Regions from separate parts of the Homo sapiens genome. Here region 1 is linked to region 2. The links are contacts of gene promoters, found by promoter capture Hi-C in blood cells and fetal thymus (Javierre and others, 2016). All regions are on one chromosome and are shown on one strand. Each heading gives the region's core, a stretch centred on a gene start or on the middle of the fragment in contact. The rest is flanking DNA. Distances are from core to core; before and after follow the strand shown.

Region 1 (5,692 bases), core at 92-2,591, 130 kb after region 2:
TCATATTTTATTAAACTGCATACTTACAATAACAAGCACAACTGGCAAACAGGTTTGGGGACAGAAATAATGGCTTTTGGGACATGCTTGATTTGGCTGGTGGGAGCAGAAATGGGCAGGCACATTGGAGAGCACCCGGCTGGAGCCCTCCATGAGGTGGGCCTCTGTCTGAAGGCTTCACAGGGGGACTGAGGGGTGATGGGTGAGTCCCTAGGCGAGGCCAGTTACCAAATGTCAATGTGGGCGAGTCAGAGAGCTGTCCTTGGGTGATACTTTCTGTGAAGTTTTATAAGAAGCTGAGTTCTGCATTCAGTATTTAGTACACATATTTGGAGCCCCCAGTAATCGATACGAAATGCTATCAGTCTTTAAGTGCTCAACACTGATTAGGTTTTAAAAGTATATTTTGTACCATAAATAATTAGATCTATATTTAATGAGCAGACCTAGGGCACAGGGTGGTGGTTCCTTCTGGAACTTAAGATTTTCCCAAGCCAAGCTCAGGAAAGGCAGGTAGGTATGGCAGTTGGAGTGGGAGTGGCTGACCCAGATGGCCTCTTTGTTAATCAGGTGTCTGTACTTGCCTAGGCCTGGGGCCTGTTCTGAAAGCCAACTTTTTGGCTTCAAGGAAGTTCTATTCCTAAAGAGAGTGAAGGTGAGGTTCTCTGGAACAGCAGAAATCTGGATCCAGATATCAGGGCTAACAGGGTGTGTCCTGTCCTCCAGCCATGGAGGCAGCAGGAGGAGGTGGATGGCGCCTTCTCGATGACCACTTGGCCCAAGGCAACACAGCGGGTGGGGACCTCACCTGTGAGGACTTGCTAGGGCAGAGCATCTGGACTGTTCTCAACTGGCTCTGGGGACCATTTAATCTTTCAGAGGGTGGGGGAAGTGAATGGAAGAAGGAGGGATTGGTTGGAAAAGCTTCAGTGACAGGGCAAACCTGGGCTAAAGGCAACCAGCTGGTCTTGATGGAGTGCACCTGTAGTCCCAGCTACTCAGGAGGCTGAGGTGAGAGAACCACTTAAACCCAGGAGTTCAAGTCCAGCCTGGGCAACATAGTGCAACCCTGTCTCTAAAAAAAAAAAATTTAAAAATTAAAAAAAATTTAAAGTGGACCTGTTCTGTTATTTGTAATCGAGAGGGAAGGGAAGTCATCAGTTTAATTCCTTCGAACCATAATTTATTGAGTCATTGTGTTAGGCTCTGGGAATACTAAGAAAAATAAGACACCATTCCTGCCCTCAAGGAGTCTAGTCATGGAGGCAGATACCAAGATTGTTTTTATGACAGCCCACATCAGTTGGGAATATATTTGGTATCAAGCAACAGAATACCCAACAGACAGTGGCTTGAGCAATAAAGACATTGATCAATATCACATCACTGGAAGTCTGGAGGCAGAGGGTTCCAGCTTTGGTGAAAGGATGACATCAATGATGCTATCAAAACTCAGCCTTTTTCTATCCTTCTGCTCTGCCATCTTCAACGTGTTAATTTTTGTCTCCATGCTTGTTGCCTCCTGGTCACAAGATGGCTGCTATGGTGACTCCTATAATTATATTCAAGGCAGAAAAGAAAAAAGCCAAGGAGAGAAAGGGGCTCTATTTTTATCAGGGAAGAAACGTGTTTCCCAGATACCCCCTCTGAAAATGACCTCTCATGTATCATTGGGCACAACTGAGAGGAAATGCTTCAGGGAGGCTGGGAAACTGAGGGACTAGCAAATAGGAACAGGATGCTGGTGATGTCTTAGATGAAGCTTGACTCATCTTCTGGGCCTAGATACATTGTCACCCGAAAAGGTGAGGTTCTGGTGGCAAGGAAGAAAGGGTGGAGCAGAATCACTGTTAGGTAGGATGAGCAGTGCCTGCCTTGTGTGGTAAGAGCTAGGATAGGCTCAGGATGCAAAGAGAAACCAGAGGAGCAGAGTTGGCCTAACTTGGGGGCTCAGGGAAGGGTTCCTGGAAAAGGTGGCTCCTGAGTGAGTTTTAGAGCAGCTGTATCAAGAACAGTTGCAACGTCATCCTAGGTAGATTGACAGCAGGAGCAGAAGCAGAAATAGACATGTGAAATAACCTAGTATGTCCAGGAAAGTGAGCACAATTAGATATTTAGTTAAGTGATGGGGAGAGAGAGAGACAGAGAGAGAGAGAGAGGAGGTGCAGGTGGAGAGGGGAAGAAACCAGGCCACGGTGGGCTTTGAAAGTCATGCTGTCAACCTTGTCTAACCAATTTATCCTGGCTTCTGCCAGTGCAGGGGCAGGGCTGGCTGTGCAATTTAGAAATATTACTCAATGCTGGTACAGAGATTGGGTGGGTGGGAGAGGCCGTGAGAAGCTCAGAGTGCAGCAGGGAGACCAGCAAGGAGGTTCTTGCAGCCATCCAGATGAGAGCTGTGGAGGGCCTGGAACAGACTTGGGCCTGGAACAGACTTTCCAAAGTCAGACTGCCAATATTTCAGCAAAAAGACAGGCAGGGTTCCATGCCACGAATCTCTGGGTGGGATAGCTGTCTCAAGAGGGCTGGGAAGCTCTCAAAAATGTACATGACACTGTGCAATCCCACACAGGGTAGTCTGCGTCCCAGTAATGAAGGAAGAAGGGAGGTGACCACAGAAATCAGTGTGTGGCAGGAGAGCTCTTTGCCAAATTGCTGTGTTAAGGAGGCTTGAACAGAGAAGGGAAGGACAGATGTGAGACAGGACTACGGGCCTGTAAAGAGAGTTTCTGGAAGATAAAAATAGGTAGAGGTTTGTGAAAGATGCTAGGGGCAACCCAGGCTTGTTTAGCTGTGATCATAGCCAGTCAAGATCAAGGGATCCAGAGGCTGCAGTTGGGCCTGATGACACAGCACGGGTGGGGAGTGTACGAAGAGTAGGGCTCCTTGCTGCCCCCTGGCAGGAGAGCAGCCTGCAAACCCAGAGGGCAGCAGTAGATGACACAGAGGCCCAGGGAGCCCTGGAGGTGGGATGGGCCCTCCCCTCTCCACTGCTGCTGGGGTGTTCAAAGGGCCTCTCCCCATAAAACAACACTTGGGGCACAAAGGAAGCTTGTGAACCAGACTGCTGGGGCCACTTTGTCCCACCTGAGAAAGCCAAGAGCACGGGGGCCTTGAGAAGGGAAAAACGTGGTTCTGAGTTTTAAAAAGAGTCCTGGGCAAGGATCCTTGTGGATTATGGAAGGAGTAGTTAGTGAGCATTAGAAAAGTGGGAAGCTTCTGGATAGCTGGAAACATGGCCGTTCCTGGAGGGCGGTGCGCCCAGGGAGGGCATGGAAGCTCCACGTCCTTCCTGCATACCTTGTCTTACGCATCTGTTCATTGTATCCTTGGTACCCCATGTCTGAAGGACATAAAATGATCTTGACACCTGAAACATCCATGCTGTCCCGGGTGATGTCAGAAAAACACTCTAATGAGGACAGCAGTGCCCAGGAGGGTTCCATAATAAAATGGAAATGGCTTATACAGAATCATGCAACCTGAGGAATGTAAGGAGGAGATATGAGCAGGGAGCCTCATTACACCCTAGGACTGACTGTGGAACTGTGTGAGGAGCTGTGGATCCTACAGTGCTCTCAACTGACCAGCAAATAGCTGCTTGGTTTGTGGATGGCAGTTCCAAGGTAAATGGACAACCTCCTGTTTGGAAGGCTGCTACTATGATCCAAGAAGGTAAAAACTAATCAGCTTGGTGGGCTGAATCACATGCTGCTTTCCTAACAGCGATGGAAGAATTGAACGATGCCAGAAGCCCCTGTGGTTGGGTTTTTACCGACTCATGGGCATTGGCCAATGGCCTGGCCAGATGGTTAGGCAGAAGGGCAATAGAAACCTGGCTTATTGAAGAAATGCCCTTACGGGGCATGGCCCTGTGGAAATCTGAGGGGTGCCTTAAAGTAGAACATGTCAACGCCCACTAAGAAAGCCCCTCTCCATGTTTGCAAGGTGACTGGAATTGACAAGCAGATATCTCTGTTTCTTTGAGGTGTTCACCTGGGTCCTTGAAATGAGCAGAGATGGGGGTGCAGAGAAGGGCTGGATCTAGACATGTTCCTTTTGTACCCTCTCCGGCACAAACTGCTAATAAGACTGTTCTGTTTGTCAGCAAGAGAGCCAGAGACTGCCAATGGCTATGTGGCCATTTCCCTGGTGGGAAGGCCCTAAAGAAAGCTGGCAAGTGAGTGGTACCCTGAGGGGCTACAAGTGGGTCTTGACAGAAATAGACACTGGCTCTGGAGTGGACTTTGCTTACCTGGTGGAAGATGAAAATTTTTAGAGTGCCATAAAAAAAAAAAAAAAAAACCAGAACAGAAAATATCGCATGGATTTGGATGGCCAACCATCCTTTTTTCAGACCAAGGAACACAGTGTACAGCCCATAATATCCAGCAATGAGCAGATAGCTATCCTCCTCAGAGTAAGAGTTTGATAGAGAAGTGGAATGGGCAATTAAAACATCAGTTGCTGGCCGGGAGCAGTGGCTCACACCTGTAATTCCAGCACTTTGGGAGGCTGATGCGGGTGGATCACTTAGGTCAGGAGCTCGAGACCAGCCTGACCAACATGGCGAAACACCGTCTCTACAAAAAATACAAAAATACAAAAAATAAAAAAATTAGCTGGGCATAGTGGCACACACCTATAATCCCAGCTACTCCAGGGGCTGAGGCAGGAGGCAGGAGAATGCTTGAACTCAGGAGGCGGAGATTGCAGTGGGCCGAGATTGCACCACTGCACTCCAGCCTGGGTGACAGAGTGAGACTTTGTCTCAAAAATAAATAAATGAAATAAAAATAAAAATTGGTTTTCTAAGACAAAGTCGAGATGAAAGCACGCAGGGCTGGCTTACATGCCTTCACAAGTGCGTGCTCACCTCAACATGAGTGGGACTGAAGAGGCGTCCCCACTGGGTTTTTCTCTGTTTTTCTGGTTGATCTGGGGAAGATGGGGCAGGGAGGATGCTGGTATGACGATGCAATTCTTGCCAAGGGAGGAGTACACTGGTATAACGACTATATATATTTTTTCTTCCCCAAATCACCTTAAAAATTTTTTTCCCCTGCCTGATGCAGTGGTTCTAGGACCAGGGCTGCAACCAAAAGTGCTGGAAGCAGGGATGATTTCTAAGCAAGACACTGTCACTATGCTTTTAAACCTTACATCAGAATTCTTAAGTGCCTAATGGGGGAGGGTTGTGCCTTTACCCCACCTAGCAAAAGTGGGGCTAAGAGTGAATGCAGCTATATTGCCTGGTGGTAAAAATAGCTCACCAGTTCTGCACCTATGTAACTTTACCCTATCTGAATGGGAGCGAACTGAGGAGGAAGTACTTGCTAAGCTTGTATTGCTGCCTGCAAACTAGACTAGCACAGTGGCGATTCTAATGTCCCTTCCAAAGGTGAAAAAGTTTGGGTATTAATGGAGAGAAGGAGAAACAGTAGCTGAGGGTAAAGGAATGAACAAATGGGTTATAAATGGAGGGAAGTCCAACATTACATTAACACCTTCAAAGAGACTCAGAGCAAGTGACGACATTATTGCTTAGCTCAATTATAACAGATGCCCAAAAGGTGAAAACGATGTTTGCTGAGACCATTCATGCTTTTGGAACCTGACAAGATTGAAAGGAAGCCTACAAGCCTGAGTGGCCTCCCCTGGGAGACATATTCGTACCTTACAATGATTGACT
Region 2 (5,914 bases), core at 777-3,276:
TCAAAATTAGCTATATGTATAATACTTTATGCCTTACACATAATGCATAGACTAGCAAAAGAAAATGTTTTCATTTACAAGCTTTGAAGATAGGTGATTCTTAAGAATATAGAATATGGTAGTGCCTTCATGTAGAATCATATTAATTCAACCTAACATTTAGATGAAGGACTTCAGAGACCCATTTGATTTACAGTCCATCCTTTTTTACTTTTTTTAAAGAGGTGGGCGTTCTCACTACGTTGCCCAGGTTAGACTCCAATTTCTGGGCTCAAGTGATCCTCCCACCTTGGCCTTCCAAAGTGCTGGGATTAAAGATATGTACCACTGTACCTGGCTTACAGTCCATCATTTCACAAACTCTCCAAAGGAAAAAATTAAGTCTAACTTCAAATATTTGTTGTTAAAACAAAACGATTCCTCTTGCCTTTTTTTCTGGAAGCATAGCAAAATCTGCCTCAACTTTGAATTTCATAAGAATATGCAAATTGTAGCCAATAGTGTTTGACACTTGGTAGACTCCCCAAAATGGTATGGAGATATGCCTATTTTGCAGCATGGGAACAAATGAAACATCCAAGTCCTCTCTATCATCTGCATGATTTCTTTAGTGTCTTTATTAATGGGTCTACTAATGGATAAGTTAATCAGGCAATATCCAGACTTTTTTTTCTAGCAAATGCTCCACTTCCCTTACGGGCTAAATTCTTCAAACATACTTACTATTTCCATCTCTTCATCAACTATCTCTTTCATTTCTCCAAACTGGATTCCTTGTTTGCCACTCTATTGAAATTGCTGTTTGAAAGCTACAAAGAGACCTCTTCTGAGACAAATCCAATGGCCCCTTCATTAGGCCCTTTTTAGACTTTTCTGCTCCCTCTGACAACAATGATCACTCTTTTCCACTGGATACTTCTCAGCTTTCGTTAAAGGATATGCTGCCCAATACTATGCCAGATCCTCAAAAAACCCCACATCTCTTCTTTTGCACATCACTCATCCTTTCCTGCTTCCAGGAGTACACAAAGGAAGGCTATGTCCTAAAAGACCGTTTCACTCTCCGCCAGATTCCATCCTTTTGTGAGCCTGCTCAAGACACATCCTCTTTATGAAAACTTCCAACTGGGTTTGCCGTTTCCAGTAACTGAGTCTCCCTGTACTTCGTCACGTAAAAGGCTAACTTGCATTTATTGGAGTGTGTATATACATAATCTCATTAGAACCTAAGCTTTTCAGAAAAAGGGCTGTATTTTCTGTCTCCAGAATTCCTTCACAGCTTGAAGCATAGCACTTGGCATTCAGTAAACTCTCAGTTGATGCTCGAATCAGGCCGCTTTCCCAGATTAAGATTAATGAAAAGCTGAACTACCATCCTGCATTTGCCTATGTCTCAGCTATTCAATGGCCTTTCCACTTTGGCCTCCCCCTCACAGGGAGACTAGCGGCCCGGGGCAGAGAACGCCGCCATCAGATCACAGCATTTTGAGAAGGGAAAGTGGAAAGGGAGGCTCTGGGAGGGTACCCAGATGGCCTTCCTTCGTGATCCAGAGACTCTTTAATAAAAGAGACTGCGATTCGGAGAACATGGAAGGAAGAATTAACATGCAAACCCTTTCCGAAAACTTTTCTGAGCCCTAGGACAGGTTTAGTGTCTGCTCCTGCTAAGTAAGCAGGCTTTTCTCTCCGTCCTCCTCCGCCTTGTGAAGATACTCACAAGGGGCAGGAGATCAAGATAAGGCACCAGGGTGTGGAAGGGGCTTTTAAGCACGCCTGGGGAGCCGGTACCTCCAAAGTTTCAGAATCGGACGAAGGAAAGGTAGGAAGGAGCGCACCGGGGCTGGCGGAAGCAGTCTCTGCCGCTCTTCTTAATTTCAGGAGGTTGCTGGGACGCATGACTCACCTTCCCTGAACCCGCGAGCTGGAAGCCGAGACCAGCTGGTCGCTGCCGGGCCCGCTAGTAGCCCACGGAGAAGCCGCCCACAGCCGGACACCAGAGCCTTGAGGGCCGCCATCTTCAAAAACCTACCCTGACCTCTCGTCCATTTCCGCTTCCGGAACGTAGCGCCCGCCGCCGCAGTGGTGGGGCAGGAACGGCGGGGCGGGGTTGTAGTTCGCTTGCTCCTGTCACATCATTTCTCTCACCTGTCCGCTTTGGGATACGAAGAGAGGCTTCTGCGTCAAGCCTATATTTCGTGTTAAGGATCTAGGGGAGGTCTTCTAGCTCCTGTCTGCCAATGCCTACAAGTCTTCAAGGTTGCATTCGTTTCCTGGAAGGCTTCCTTAGGAAAATCGCACGCAACACCCCACCTATGTCTTTAAAGCTTTCTCTTCACTGCACGTGAGCTGTGGACTTTTAGCTTCTGTGACTGGGGCTAGACCTCTACGGGAGAGGCTGAAATGGTTAGGAACTCTGGCTCTGGAGTATCGGATATCAGGCAGACCTGGGATAGAATTGATACCCCCTTCTTCCCTGACCACTGCCACACTGATCTTTGATTTGCATATACTTAGACCTCTCTCTAGCCCCAGGGCCTTGATACAAGCTATTTCCTTTGTCTGCTCTTTAGCTGTCTAGTTAGCTTCTGCTTATTTCTTAGAGCTCACCTCAAACCTTATTTCCACAGTTTTGCTTGACTGCCCATTCTCAGCACCAGATGCCTCTCCATCTTAGTGCTTGGGACAATTTCAGTTTTATGTTTGTTTTGTATGTGTCTTCTCACCAGACTGTAAGCTCCATGAAGTCAGGAACATTGTTTTCTGTTGACTCGCACATCTCCAGCACTTAGAATAGTTCCTGACACATAATAAGAGTACAATATATACTTGTTGAATGAATGAGTAGAATCTATTTTATAGGGCCTAGGGGAGGACTAGACCCTGAAGATTAGATGTGATAAAACATAAGTGATCGGCCGGGTGTGGTGGCTCATGCCTGTAATCCCAGCACTTTGGGAGGCTGAGGCGGGTGGATTACCTGAGGTCAGGAGTTCAAGACCAGCCTGACCAACATGGTGAAACCCTATCTACTAAAAATACAAAAATTAGGTGGGTGTGGTGGCGGGCACCTGTAATCCCAGACACTTGGGAGGCTGAGGCAGGAGAATCGCTTGAACCCAGGAGGCGGAGGTTGCAGTGAGCCAAGATCACACCATTGCACTCCAGCCTGGGCGACAAGAGTGAAACTCCGTCTCAAAAACAAAACAAAACAAAACAAAACAAAACAAAAGGGCTCAATAAACATAAGCTAGTTAATAGAGCAGTTATGGAGATGACTCTTTTCACAAGTTGGACTCACTTGTGTTGTAAGGAAGCTTATGGTACCAAAGAGAAAATACAACTGCCAGTTTTTCCTCTTTCAGATTTGTGAGACGTATAGGATGTTCCTCTGGAGCTCCACAGGAAAGGAAAATCATTCACAACTCAGTTCTTCCTATCCTTCTCTGATTCAAGATGGGAAAATCAGGCTTATTAAATGACATAGCATGTTTTCTGATGAGTAGGAGAGGAGCCCATCATCCAGTTGGGACCGTCACCCTAATAGGAGGATGCAGAGCAGCTGCTGTATGGAAAATGTGAGTGGCATCACCATAGACAGGGAGAACAGGAGAAATGCAGCATTGGGTTACGTTAAAACATCTCATTTAGCAAAGGTAAACCCGGTGAAGGGGAAACTTAAAAGAAAAGTCAATCAAGGTGGTAGAGACTGACACATGGATTAGGAGTGAAGCAGAGGGTCTTAGTGAGGTGTAGGTCTAGGTGTCCCAGCCAGGATCAAGAAAGCTTTGACTCTCCCTATAGCTTCCAAGTTTGTTCTGCATAGATGACCTTGAGCTTATAGATGTATAGATGACCTTTTGTGTTTGTACTACATCCTCTGTTTCTTCACCCATTTCCAACTTCCAGGAATCCAGTAGAGACAAGGGCAGCAACAGAGCCCCACCCAGGGCTTGCTTTGGACACAGTGAGCTAAAGCATTCGAGTGCCAACCCTCTTCTCATTATCTTATCTTAACTTATCATAAACAAATTTTATTTTAAAAAACAACTATGACAGGTAACATGTGATCATTGTAGAAAAATGAAACAATAAATAAAGTAAAAAGAAAATAAATGTCATCTAAAATCCAGAGATAAGCATTGTTTACATTTAGCAAGATGAAATAATACTGTGGATATTCTTTGCCTTATAATATCTTATTTTTCTGAATCCATTTATGATTAGTCCCTACAATTCTGTGAGACCAGGTTTGGATCAGGAGACTAGCTTTAAAAAACAACACATCTTTTAATTAAAGTATTACCTGTGTAAGAAAAATACACAGGCTGGGTACAATGGCTCACGCCTGTAATCCCAGCACTTTGGGAGGCCGAGGCAGGTGGATCACTTAAGGTCAGGAGTTCGAGACCAGCCTGGCCAACATGGTGAAACCTCATCTCTGCTAAAAATACAAAAATTAGCTGGGCGTGGTAGGCTCCTGTAATCTCAGTTCCTCAGGAGGCTGAGGCAGGAGAATCACCTGAACCCTGCAGGTGGAGGTTGCGGTGAGCCGAGATCACGCCATTGCACTCCAGCCTGGGCAACAGAGTGAGACTGTCTCAAAAAAAAAAACAAAAAACCCAAACAAACAAACAAACAAAAAACAACAAAACACACAAATCATCAGTGTACTGCTTGATGAATTTTCGCAAAGGGACACACTACCCATACTGGAGTGGAGTGGCATGTTCAAGCAGAACTTGACTGGCACTCTAGAACACCCCATTGTGTCCCCTTCCAGACACTACCCCGCAAGGATAATCATTATCCTGACTTTTAGCACAATACATTACTTTTCCCTGCATTTGACCTTTATATAATATTCCACTGTGAATATACTATATTTTAAAAAATCACTTTTTTTTCTGTTGATAGAATTTAGATACTTGCCACTTGGGACTACTACAAAGAGTGCTGTAACGTTCTTCTACGTGACTCTTGGTGAACACAAGAACAAACTTCTTTGGGGCCTATCTCGCGGTAGAACTGTTAGGTTGCAGGGTATGCCTATGCTCAGCTTTAGTAGAAGATATTGCCTTGACAGTTTTTACAAAAGCCTTTTTAAATTAAATTTTTTTTTTTTGAGACAGAGTCTTGCTCTGTCACCCAGGCTGGAGTGCAGTGGCGTGATCATGGCTCACGGTAGACTGGACTTCTTGGGCACGGGTGATTCTCCCACCTCAGCCTCCTGAGTAGCTGGGACTACAGGTACATGACACTATGCCCGGCTAATTTTCTGTATTTTTTGCAGAGGTGGGGTTTTCCCATGTTGCCCAGGCTGGTCTTAAACTCCTGGGCTCAAGCAATCTGCCTGTCTCAGCCTCCCAAACTGCTGAGATTACAGGCACGAGTCACCATGTCTGGCCCAAAGGCCAGGCTAGATACTGTCAAACAATTTTCCATAATGATTGTACCAGTTTACTCTGGTATCAACTGTGTGTGACAGTTCTAATTGCTCCACACCTTGTCAATATTTGATTTTTTTTTTTGGTATTTTTAATCTTGCCATTCTGGTTGGCGTGTAGTAGGATCTCACTGTGTATTTATCTTACATTTCTCTGATGCTTAATGAAGATGAGTAACTTTTCATATGTTCATAGACCATTTATTTATATTTATTTATTTATTTATTTATTTTTGAGACAGAGTCTCACTCTGTCCCACAGGCTGGAGTGCAATGGTGCGATCTTGGCTCACTGCAACCTCCGCCCCCCAGGTTCAAGTGATTCTTCTGCCTCAGCCTCCCGAGTAGCTGGGATTACAGGTGCACCCCACCATGTCCAGCTAATTTTTGTATTTTTAGTACAGACAGAGTCTCACCATGTTGGACAGGCTGGTATGGATCTCCTGACCTCCAATTATTCACCTGCCTCGG

Evidence for each region. Contacts are between HindIII fragments. The CHiCAGO score rates a contact against its expected background, and 5 or more counts as called.
Region 1: a fragment that was not itself captured here is called in contact with the fragment with the promoter of MRPS18A in region 2 in 1 of 17 cell types (monocytes); the score reaches 5.3 in monocytes.

The regions. Positions count from the first base shown.
Region 1 is chr6:43,814,485-43,820,176 of GRCh38, forward strand. The region is part of intron 1 of LOC105375070 (a long non-coding RNA gene); the gene reads left to right. Among named protein-coding and RNA genes, the nearest start is that of LINC02537, 35 kb to the right of the region's middle. RefSeq lists enhancers at 2,620-2,669, 2,790-2,849. The HindIII fragment of the contact is 838 bases long and covers 923-1,760 here.
Region 2 is chr6:43,685,765-43,691,678 of GRCh38, forward strand. MRPS18A (mitochondrial ribosomal protein S18A) reads right to left here and starts at 2,027. Exons shown (of 6, transcript NM_018135.4): 1 at 1,904-2,027. The coding sequence starts at 2,015. It overlaps LOC124901320 (a long non-coding RNA gene), which reads left to right and starts at 3,198. Exons shown (of 2, transcript XR_007059586.1): 1 at 3,198-3,575; 2 at 3,907-4,129. RefSeq lists enhancers at 1,781-1,840, 1,786-2,397. The HindIII fragment of the contact is 1,093 bases long and covers 1,230-2,322 here.